2 separate regions of the Homo sapiens genome follow, and region 1 is linked to region 2. Evidence: promoter capture Hi-C in human tissues and cell types (Jung and others, 2019). All regions are on one chromosome and are shown on one strand. Each heading gives the region's core, a stretch centred on a gene start or on the middle of the fragment in contact. The rest is flanking DNA. Distances are from core to core; before and after follow the strand shown. Region 1 overlaps CSNK1G1 (casein kinase 1 gamma 1). Region 2 holds the start of ANKDD1A (ankyrin repeat and death domain containing 1A).

Region 1 (4,476 bases), core at 1,475-3,974, 640 kb before region 2:
GCCCCAATGTATAAAACAGAAGTGAATGAGGTAATTAGAAAGAAGATGAATAAAATGTTTTTATAACAGAACATATAAAGAATAACTATTTCACAGAGCTTTATGAAGATGATAGAATATGTGTAAATATTTTGTAAACTGCAAGGTGCTAGATAAGTCTAATTTTTATTACTTCTATTATTATAGCAGAGAAGAGGTAATAATTCCTAAGAGGACTAGAATAGGATCTTCATGCAAGGTATTTTGAAGGAAAACCTAACAACGTTTGGATTACATGTAATGTGAGGGATAAGGAAAACGGAAGGGTCTAAATGAGGGGTGTCCAACCTTTTGGCTTCTCTGGGCCACACTGGAAGAATTGTCTTGGGCCACACATAAAATACATGAACACTAACAAAAGCTGATGAGCTAAAAAAAAAAAAAAAAAAAATCACATAATGTTTTAAGAGAGTTTGCAATTTTGTGTTGGGCTGCATTCAAGGCTGTCCTGGGCCACACGTGGCCCACAGGCCACAGGTTGAACAAGCTTGGTCTAAATGATGCTCTTAATTAGCGGAGAACAGACTTAGTTAGGAGAGTAAACAATATCATTCCACGCTACTATGATGCATTCCTGCAAATTCTCACTAAACCTAAAAGTGATAGACAAATTATAAAATGCTTCTTAGCTTCTATTTTCACATGTATATAAAAGAGTATAATCACAGAAGTATAATAAGTGAGACAAGCCTATGTAACACCCAACATAGTGGCTGATACATCACAAAATGCTAGCTTGCGTTTACTTAATTTCTCTAAGGGCACCAAAAGAATCAAATACATGTTACCCTTTTTCTTAAGAGGCACTGGAGGTGACTTGATAAGTCTCCTGAGCTAAGCATTGCCTCAAATGAATTTCTTTGCAAGGGCACAAATGCATCATTAAAATTTTACAGGTCAACACAAAATGCAGCCATGTTTCAGAAATTTAGACAATCACTCAGCCACTATCCTAAATAATACACAGTACTCAAAAATTTTGCTCCAGATGAATTTAATTACAAAGATTATGTTAAAACCCTGCCCATTTAAAATAAATAACTGCTTCAGCTAAAAAAATAAAAATAAAAGCATACCAATAACTATGAGGAAGGAAAGCCATTTAATGGACAGAAAAGTACCATTGATGAGCTGGCACAATCCCAAGCACTGAAAGCTTTTAGTATCTGTTGCACAAAATCCACAACGCTTCCCAAGCTCACTTCCTGGCTATTGGTTCCTTTATTCTTAATAGAAAAGGAACTGCATTACACAGTAGTTTTTGGAGCTTTATATTTAAACTCAGCCCTTTCAAAGCAGCAGTCCTGGATGTGATGCTGTCCATAAAACCCTCTGCATGAAGACTTCCTGTTTCTGTAAGTCACCTACAGAGACAACATTCACCGTAAGCTTCATCAGACACTGCATTATTTCAAAGAACTAGGAGTTCTCAGTTCTCAGAGCCATACTGATAAAGGAACATACAGTCTGTTTAGTTAGAGCTCCAGCTGTCACATTTTCTTGCCCTTCAGTGAAAATAGTACATGTATAAATTACTACCTAGAACTTGTAAAAAATCCAGCCAAATGAACTTGAGGCAATTAGTAGTTAAAACAAGTAACTACTTTTATATAACTCAGATGATTACCATGTCTATTTAGGGCAAAGAGGACAGGTTGGCCTATTGCCACCTCCACCCAAAAAGCATCTCTTCTTTTTGTGGAGACACAGTCTTGCTATGTTGCCCAGGCTGGAGTGCAGTGGCATGATCTTGGCTCACTGAAACTCTGCCTCCCAGGTTCAAGCAATTCTCCTGCCTCTGCCTCCCGAGTAACTGGGATTACAGGTGCATGCCACCACACCCAACCAACTTTTGTATTTTAGTAGAGATGGGTTTCACCTTGTTGCCAGGCTGGTCTCAAACTCCTGACCTCAGGTGAGCCTCCCGTCTGGGCCTCCCAAAGTGCTGGGAGGCATGAGCCATCTTGCCCGGCCCAAAGAGCATCTCTTTAAGTGAGCAGTATGATTAGGGGTAAGAAGATAACGATAGCAATACAACTCTAAAGAAAAAAAGCAGATAATGTTTTCACTTTTACTAACTTAATAGTATTAAAATATTAGTATACTATGCAGAAACATTTCCCAAATGATTAGTAGTTAAGGCAAGAATAATTTTTTCTTGTGTCAAGTTTTTTAAAGGGCTTACCTATCAACAACAATAAGTACATTATAATAAAAGAAAAACTTATTAAAGCTTAATATCACTGGGATGGTATATACAGCATGTTTATTATTAACAAGACAGACAATGCTCAAATGTTTTCTAAAGTGTAGAACATGATCCATTAGTGGGATATAAAGTAAATACATTCAAATATTGATTTTAAAGAATGTCTTGACCAAATTTTTTAAAGAAAAAATATATAAAATAAAAAGTATCAGAGTACATTATACTCAGTAAGGATAAAATATTATTTCATGAAACTTCATATACACAGATATTAACTATGTGTATATTAAATCACAATTTTTTTAGTGTGAGTTATGATCAAAGAATAATAAGAGCCATCAATAAAAATCTTCTAAAAAGCAGTTTCAATTATTTCATTTTGCAATGAAAAGCTGGTCAGTGGCTGGACTAGTTTCTATATAACTTTCCTAAGGTATTACACATGATATTCTGATTAATCTGTTAGTAAGAAAAATGAGAGTGCTTCTAACATCTGAAAGTCTAAAGTGAGGCTACGTGGAGTGAGGTAAAAGGCAGCCAGGGCCAAAAGAAAGGGAGAAGTTGAAAGTCATTTATAAATAGCATCAAAGCAGGACTCATACTCCATTTTTCAGAAAGTGTCTATGTACTTTCAAGGGCCTATGCTTTACAAAGAAAATTTGTAAAATGTTCTATATTATAGTGGTGGGCAGAAAAACTGGAGTGAATCATTCTAGAAAGTATGATTTTCTGCAGCAGAGAAATACCAAAGTATTTTTGTATTTTTAAAATTTTTATGCATAACTTCAAAGGCATATGATTTTCCCCCATGTAACCTACCCAATTTCAGTAACTTTATTATTTTGAAACAAATCTCAGATGTTACATCATTTTATCAGTAAATATTTCATTATGGGTCTGAAACAGAATTGAAGTACTTTTTCAGAACAGACGGATCATTTATTATTTGAAGACCTCTAGAATATGAATGTGGAAAATTAAAAGGTCAAATGGGAACCCATGAAAATGAAAAAGAGTGACGTACCAATGAGATATTTCAGCCACCCAGGTAGGAAAAAAAAGGTACAACAGTCCTTTGAAAAATAAAAGAGTTGAGGCTGGGCACGGTGGCTCACGCCTGTAATCCCAGCACTTTGGGAGGCCGAGGCAGGTGGATCACGAGGTCAGGAGATCGAGACCATCCTGGCTAACACAGTGAAACCCTGTCTCTAATAAAAAATACAAAAAAATTAGCTGGTGGTAGTGGCGGGCACCTGTAGTCCCAGCTACTTGAGAGGCTGAGGCAGGAGAATGGTGTGAACCCGGGAGGCAGAGCTTGCAGTGAGCCAAGATCGCACCAGTGCACTCCAGCCTGGGTGACAGAGCGAGACTCCATCTCAAAAAAAAAAAAAAAAGAAAAAGAAAATAGTTGAAAGTGAAAAAACAATCATGAACAGAGTTCAAGGTAAAGCAATCAATTCCGGAAGAACTAGAACCATGCAACGTCAGTGACTTGAACTTGATCATTAGACAAAATAGTCAAATATATTTTCCTGCCAATAAGAATATAGACCTCTATTCTAGACAGTGATGCAAGTTTTGAGAGGAAATATAGATGTTATTAATAAAGTTGGAGGCTGGGTGCTGTGGCACAAACCTGTAATCCAAAAACTTTGGGAGGTCAAGGTGAGAGAATCACTTGAGGCCAGGGGTTTGAGATCAGCCTAGGCAACAAAGTGAGACTCTGCCTCCACAAAAAAATTAAATAATTAGCCAGGCATTGTGGTGCACCCTTCAGCCCTAGCTACTTGGGAGGCTGAGATGGGAGGATCCTTTGAGTCCAGGAGTTCAAGGTTACAGTGACCTGTGATTGCACCACTGCACTCCAGCCTGGGCAACAGAGTGAGACCCTGTCATTCATTCATTCATATGTACATACATAAAATAATACATATACACACACTTTTACCCCTGCTACAAGTTTTCATATTGTTATTAATATTAAAATAATAAAATTTAATATAATAAATATATTAATATTAATATATTTAATAATATATTAATATTGGTATATTTAATATATTAATATTAATATATTTAATAATATAGCAATATTGATATATTTAATAATATAGCAATATTGATATATTTAATAATATATTAATATTGATATATTTAATAATATATTAATATTGATATATTTAATAATATAGCAATATTGATATATTTAATAATATATTAATATTGAT
Region 2 (4,652 bases), core at 2,010-4,509:
GGGTGATAGCTAAAGCATATGGGCTTTCTTTTCTGGGGTGATGAAAATATTTAGTGGTGATAGTTATACAACTCTGAACGATACTGTACTAAAAACCATTGAATTATACACTTAAATGGGTGAATTTTAAGGGGCAGGGCAAAGTAAGAAGATGATATATAGTATGCTACTGCAGTAAAGGGAGAATATATGATTAAATTAAACAATATAAGGGTAAGCATCAACAACACAAATGTTATTTTGTCAGTCAGGATGCAGTGAAGGAAGCAGAATCATGTTGAGGTTATGGGTTTAGGGTACTGGTCCCCAACCTTTTGGCACTAGGGTCCAGTTTTGTGGCAGACAATTTTTTACAGGACTTGGGTGGTGGGGGGATGGTTTTGGGATAAAATTGTTCCCCTTCGGATGATCAGGCATTAGTTAGATTCTCATAAGAAGTGTGCAACCTAGGTTGGGCATGGTGGCTCACGCCTGTAATCCCAGTACTTTGGGAGGCCGAGGCAGGTGGATCACTTGAGGTCAGGAGTTTGAGACCAGCCTTACCAACATGGTGAAACCCCATCTCTACTAAAAAAATACAAAATTAGCCGGGCATGGTGGCGCAAACCTATAATCCCAGCTACATGGGAGGCTGAGGCAGGAGAATTGCTTGAACCCGGGAGGCAGAGATTGCAGTGAGCCATTGCACTCCAGCCTGGGCAACAAGAGCAAAACTCCATCTCAAAAAAAAAAAAAAGAAGTGTGCAACCTAGATTCCTCACATGCACAGTTCACAATAGGGTTCACCCTTCTATGAGAATCTAATGCCACCACTGATCTTTCAGGATGCGGAGCTCAGGTGGTAATGCTCGCTCTCCTGCTGCTCACCTCCTGCTGTGTGGCCCAGTTCCTAACAGGCCATAGACCAGTACTAGTCTGAAGCCTGGGGGTTGGAGACCCCTGGGATTAGGGATCTGTGATAGTAATTTGCCTTACACAGTTGCGGAAGGACCAGAAGGGGAGTTGGGGATCAGAGGAGTCCTTAGTCAGTCATCTGAGAAACCAAGTATGTCCAGCTGCTAAAATGGAACCACAAGGGAAAGCTCCTGGGGAGGTCTATGGGTGGTACTAATGCCCTGGGTCTGCAGCCAAGTCCGCGATGGCCTGGGGCCACTGTTGGTCAGCAGGCTCAGCAGCTGGGAAGAAAAGCTGGATGTGGAGTGAAGGAGAGTGACAGCAGGCTGGAAGCCAGTGGTGCCCTCTTCATCCATCACCACAGCTGACTATGACAACCTTCAGAGACTTAACTTTGAAACATGTAAATACTTTACATAATTGTAAAGCAAAATTAACATTTAAAAATATCAAAAAACAAAAGCAAAACAAAATAAATAAACCATGCATGTTGAGTTGGTGGCATAACCACATAAAGAACTATTCCAAGTGACTAAAACAGTAACGTGACACTATGCCCCTAGTGGGATGTACATGTGACAAAAGCTTTACAAAAAACATTTAAACTGTTTTCAGGAATAATATCTTTGGCTAGGCGTGGTGGCCAAGCACTTTGGGAGACCTAGGTGGGTAGATCACCTGAGGTCAGGAGTTCGAGGCCAGCCTGGCCAACATGGTGAAACCCCCGTCTCTACTAAAAATACAAAAATCAGCCGCGTGTGGTGGCACACACCTGTAGTCCCAGCTACTTGGGAGGTTTAGGCATGAGAATCGCTTGAACCTGGGAGGCAGAGGTTGCAGTGAGCTGAGATTACGCTACTGCACTCCAGCTTGGGCAACACAGTGAGACTCTGTCTTAAAAAAAAAACAAAAACAAAAAGGGGGGGGTGCGGCGCAGTGGCTCACACCTGTAATCCCAACACTTTGGGAGGCCAAGGTAGGTGGATCACCTGAGGTCAGGAGTTCAACACCAGCCTGACCAACATAGTGAAACCCCATCTCTACTAAAAATACAAAATTATCCAGGTGTGGGGGCGAGTGCCTGTAATCCTAGCTACATGGGAGGCTGAGGCAGGAGAACTGCTTGAACCCAGGAGGCAGAGGTTGCAGTGAGCCGAGATCATACCACTGTACTCCAGCCTGGGCGAAAGAGTGAGACTCTGTCTCAGAAAAAAAAAAATCATATCTTTGATTATTATGTTGGAATTGTTATTTTGAGACCATTTTGAGGGGTTGGCTCAGGGCTCATTAATTGTTAGCTGTTATCATTATGTTATTTTTCAAAGGCCATTCCAAATACCTCCTTCTTCAGGAAGCCTTCTTGAACTATATTCTAAGGACTAATGACTGAAAGATGCTCTTCCTCCTTTGATCCCCAAAGTAGTAGTAACTACACCTATCATGGCTTTGCTGGCTTCTTGCCTTGGGATAGAGATGCCTGAGACCCCATTATCCCTAAATTCAAAGAAGCTGTAAATGCCTTTAAGGCAAAAAGGACATGGACATCCCCCAAGGGTCTGAAGTGCAACCCATTCTGGTGTATTTAATGTGTATCTTTTTGTTTCTATGTGTCTTTGCAAGTCTGTGTTGTTTGATGTAAATGCATTTGTAATATTTTTATTGATATTGTTTCCTAGGTCTTATTTGGTTTGGTTATTTACTTTTTCTGCCTAGCACTAGGTGTTTAAATCCATATTGCCACGAATACAGCGGGTCCCTTGCTTTGAGTGCTGCACAGTTTATCCATCTGCTCTTACAAGAAAGGGCGCTTAGATTGTCTCCAACTCCCAGCAACCACAGCAACACAGCAACCAACATCCTCCTACATGTCCCTTTATGGGCCTGATAAATCTTTCTGAACACTGATAAATCCGACCATCTCTTCATATGCTTGCAGACCTGCTGAGGTTGTGGTCCCTTAAACGCCAGCTCACATCTTTGGGGTTTGACTTTCTGCGCCTGAGGCGGCGGGCCCAAGGCTCAGCCCTCCTCCCCGAGTCCCGAGAGGCGCGAGGAGGATGAGCCTGCCAGATGCCTTGTGCGCATCTATCTCCAGGGCCGGGGAGGCTGGGCGAACTCCCGGGGAGGAGACTGGGTCAGGGACACCTGCGGAACTCGGCGTGGCCCCGACCCGCCGGCCTCGGGCGCGGAGGGGTGGGCAGGTTAAGAGAGCAGGAGGAGGGACCTGCGTCCTGGTCCGGGACTGGGGTGGCCGGGGCAGCTGCGCTCCTAGCAGGCGGGGCGTGGAGTCTGGAGGAGCGACCGCCCCGTCCTCTCGGCTCCCCGGGCCCCGCCCCGGCGGACGCGCGCCTCGCGCCCGGGCACCAGCGCGCGCAGGGGCTGCGGAGCGGCAGGATGCAGGAGGAGCTGGCGTGGGAGACCGACGGCCGTGAGTCTGCCTGGAGGAGGGAGGGGGGCGGGCCGAGGCCGAGAGGACCCCCGCATCCGTTTGGGGAGTGCCAGGGGTGAGGTTGGCGCCCTCCGAACGGCCACCTCCGTGTGGGGCGTCTGTGTGGCTCCGAGCGGAATGGTTACCGGTCCGCGCACTGGGCCGAGGGGACCTTGCCAGTGCGTCTGGGACTCGGGGACCACACCCGCCAGGTGAGCGGGGAGCAGCGGCTGAGAGGTTAGCTACAAATAATAAAGGTAATAGCGATCCTTGACTGCGTGCTGTACTTTGTGTGCCAGGCCTTGACCCAGGAGAGGCACGTCATTTGATCTTCGCTGCGGCCATATGGGTAGGACATTATGTTATCTTCATTTCGCAGATGAGAAACTGAGGCACAGGGTGTTCAAATGAGTTGTTCAAGGTCACACAGCCATTGAGTGGTAGAAGTGCTGAAGGGCCCAGCTCACCCGGAATGCTGGGGCTGGATAGCGAGTGGAGACCGCATCAGATGGGGCACGCACTCAGAGGAGAGGAGCCTGACTGGCCACAGGTGGAATGAGGGCACCTCCGAACCTCCCTCAAGGAGTGCGCCCAGTGCCAGGGCCTCTAGGCCGGGCAGCAGCGTCTGTGTGGGCATCAGCTGGCCTGGGGCAGCTTTGGCTGCACCGTCTGGGAGAGGGGAGAGAAAGATTGTGTCGGTGTCTGCACTGTGAGTCCTTGATCCTGCAGCCCTGGCTGAATCCTGACAGCTGAATCCCGGGGCTTTCCCTCAAAAGCGCATAGTGCAGCTCACTGGATTCCTTTGAGACCTATAGTGTCCAAAATGCTGGCACACTGCATCTACTCAGCTGAGGGATGTGTTGGGGGTGGGAATGCTCAATCAAGATTAGGTACATGGTTCTGCCTGGGGCGGAGGATCACTTGAGTGGGCCTGCGAAGAATGTGTACCAATGGAGCATTGGGGTGTGTGGCAGAGAATTCTGGACAAAGACCCAGCATGGGCAAAGGCTCAGGTAGCTCAGTGGGTATTGGATGTGGCCAGAAAGAGGGTGCCGGATGGGAGGTGGATGGAAGAGATGAGACTGGACTTGATTTCATTCTAACTTAACCTTCTCTGGCCTGACCCTATGCAGTGTCTGCTGGCTTCCCATTGGAACTCCTGGCTGTTTGCCAATACAAACCAGGCCAATCCCCCTAAGCTGCACATAAGATAGAGGGTGCCAGACAGGAAGGGACCTATACAGATCTCTTTCTTCACCCTCCCCCAGTTTTACAATGGAAGAAACAGACCTACAAGGGGGATGTGACTAGCCCAGGATCCTGCTGCTGG

The links. The method cuts DNA at HindIII sites, captures the fragments that hold promoters and counts their contacts. A contact is called where the count stands out against the background at its distance.
Region 1: a contact is called between a fragment that was not itself captured here and the fragment with the promoter of ANKDD1A in region 2, in 1 of the 25 tissues and cell types used here (dorsolateral prefrontal cortex).

What each region holds. Positions count from the first base shown.
Region 1 is chr15:64,273,321-64,277,796 of GRCh38, forward strand. The region is part of intron 2 of CSNK1G1 (casein kinase 1 gamma 1); the gene reads right to left. Among named protein-coding and RNA genes, the nearest start is that of CSNK1G1, 81 kb to the right of the region's middle. The HindIII fragment of the contact is 3,728 bases long and covers 861-4,476 here.
Region 2 is chr15:64,908,643-64,913,294 of GRCh38, forward strand. ANKDD1A (ankyrin repeat and death domain containing 1A) reads left to right here and starts at 3,260. Exons shown (of 15, transcript NM_182703.6): 1 at 3,260-3,322. The coding sequence starts at 3,289. RefSeq lists silencers at 2,488-2,782, 2,856-2,905, 3,106-3,285 and an enhancer at 3,472-4,015. The HindIII fragment of the contact is 17,737 bases long and covers 1-4,652 here.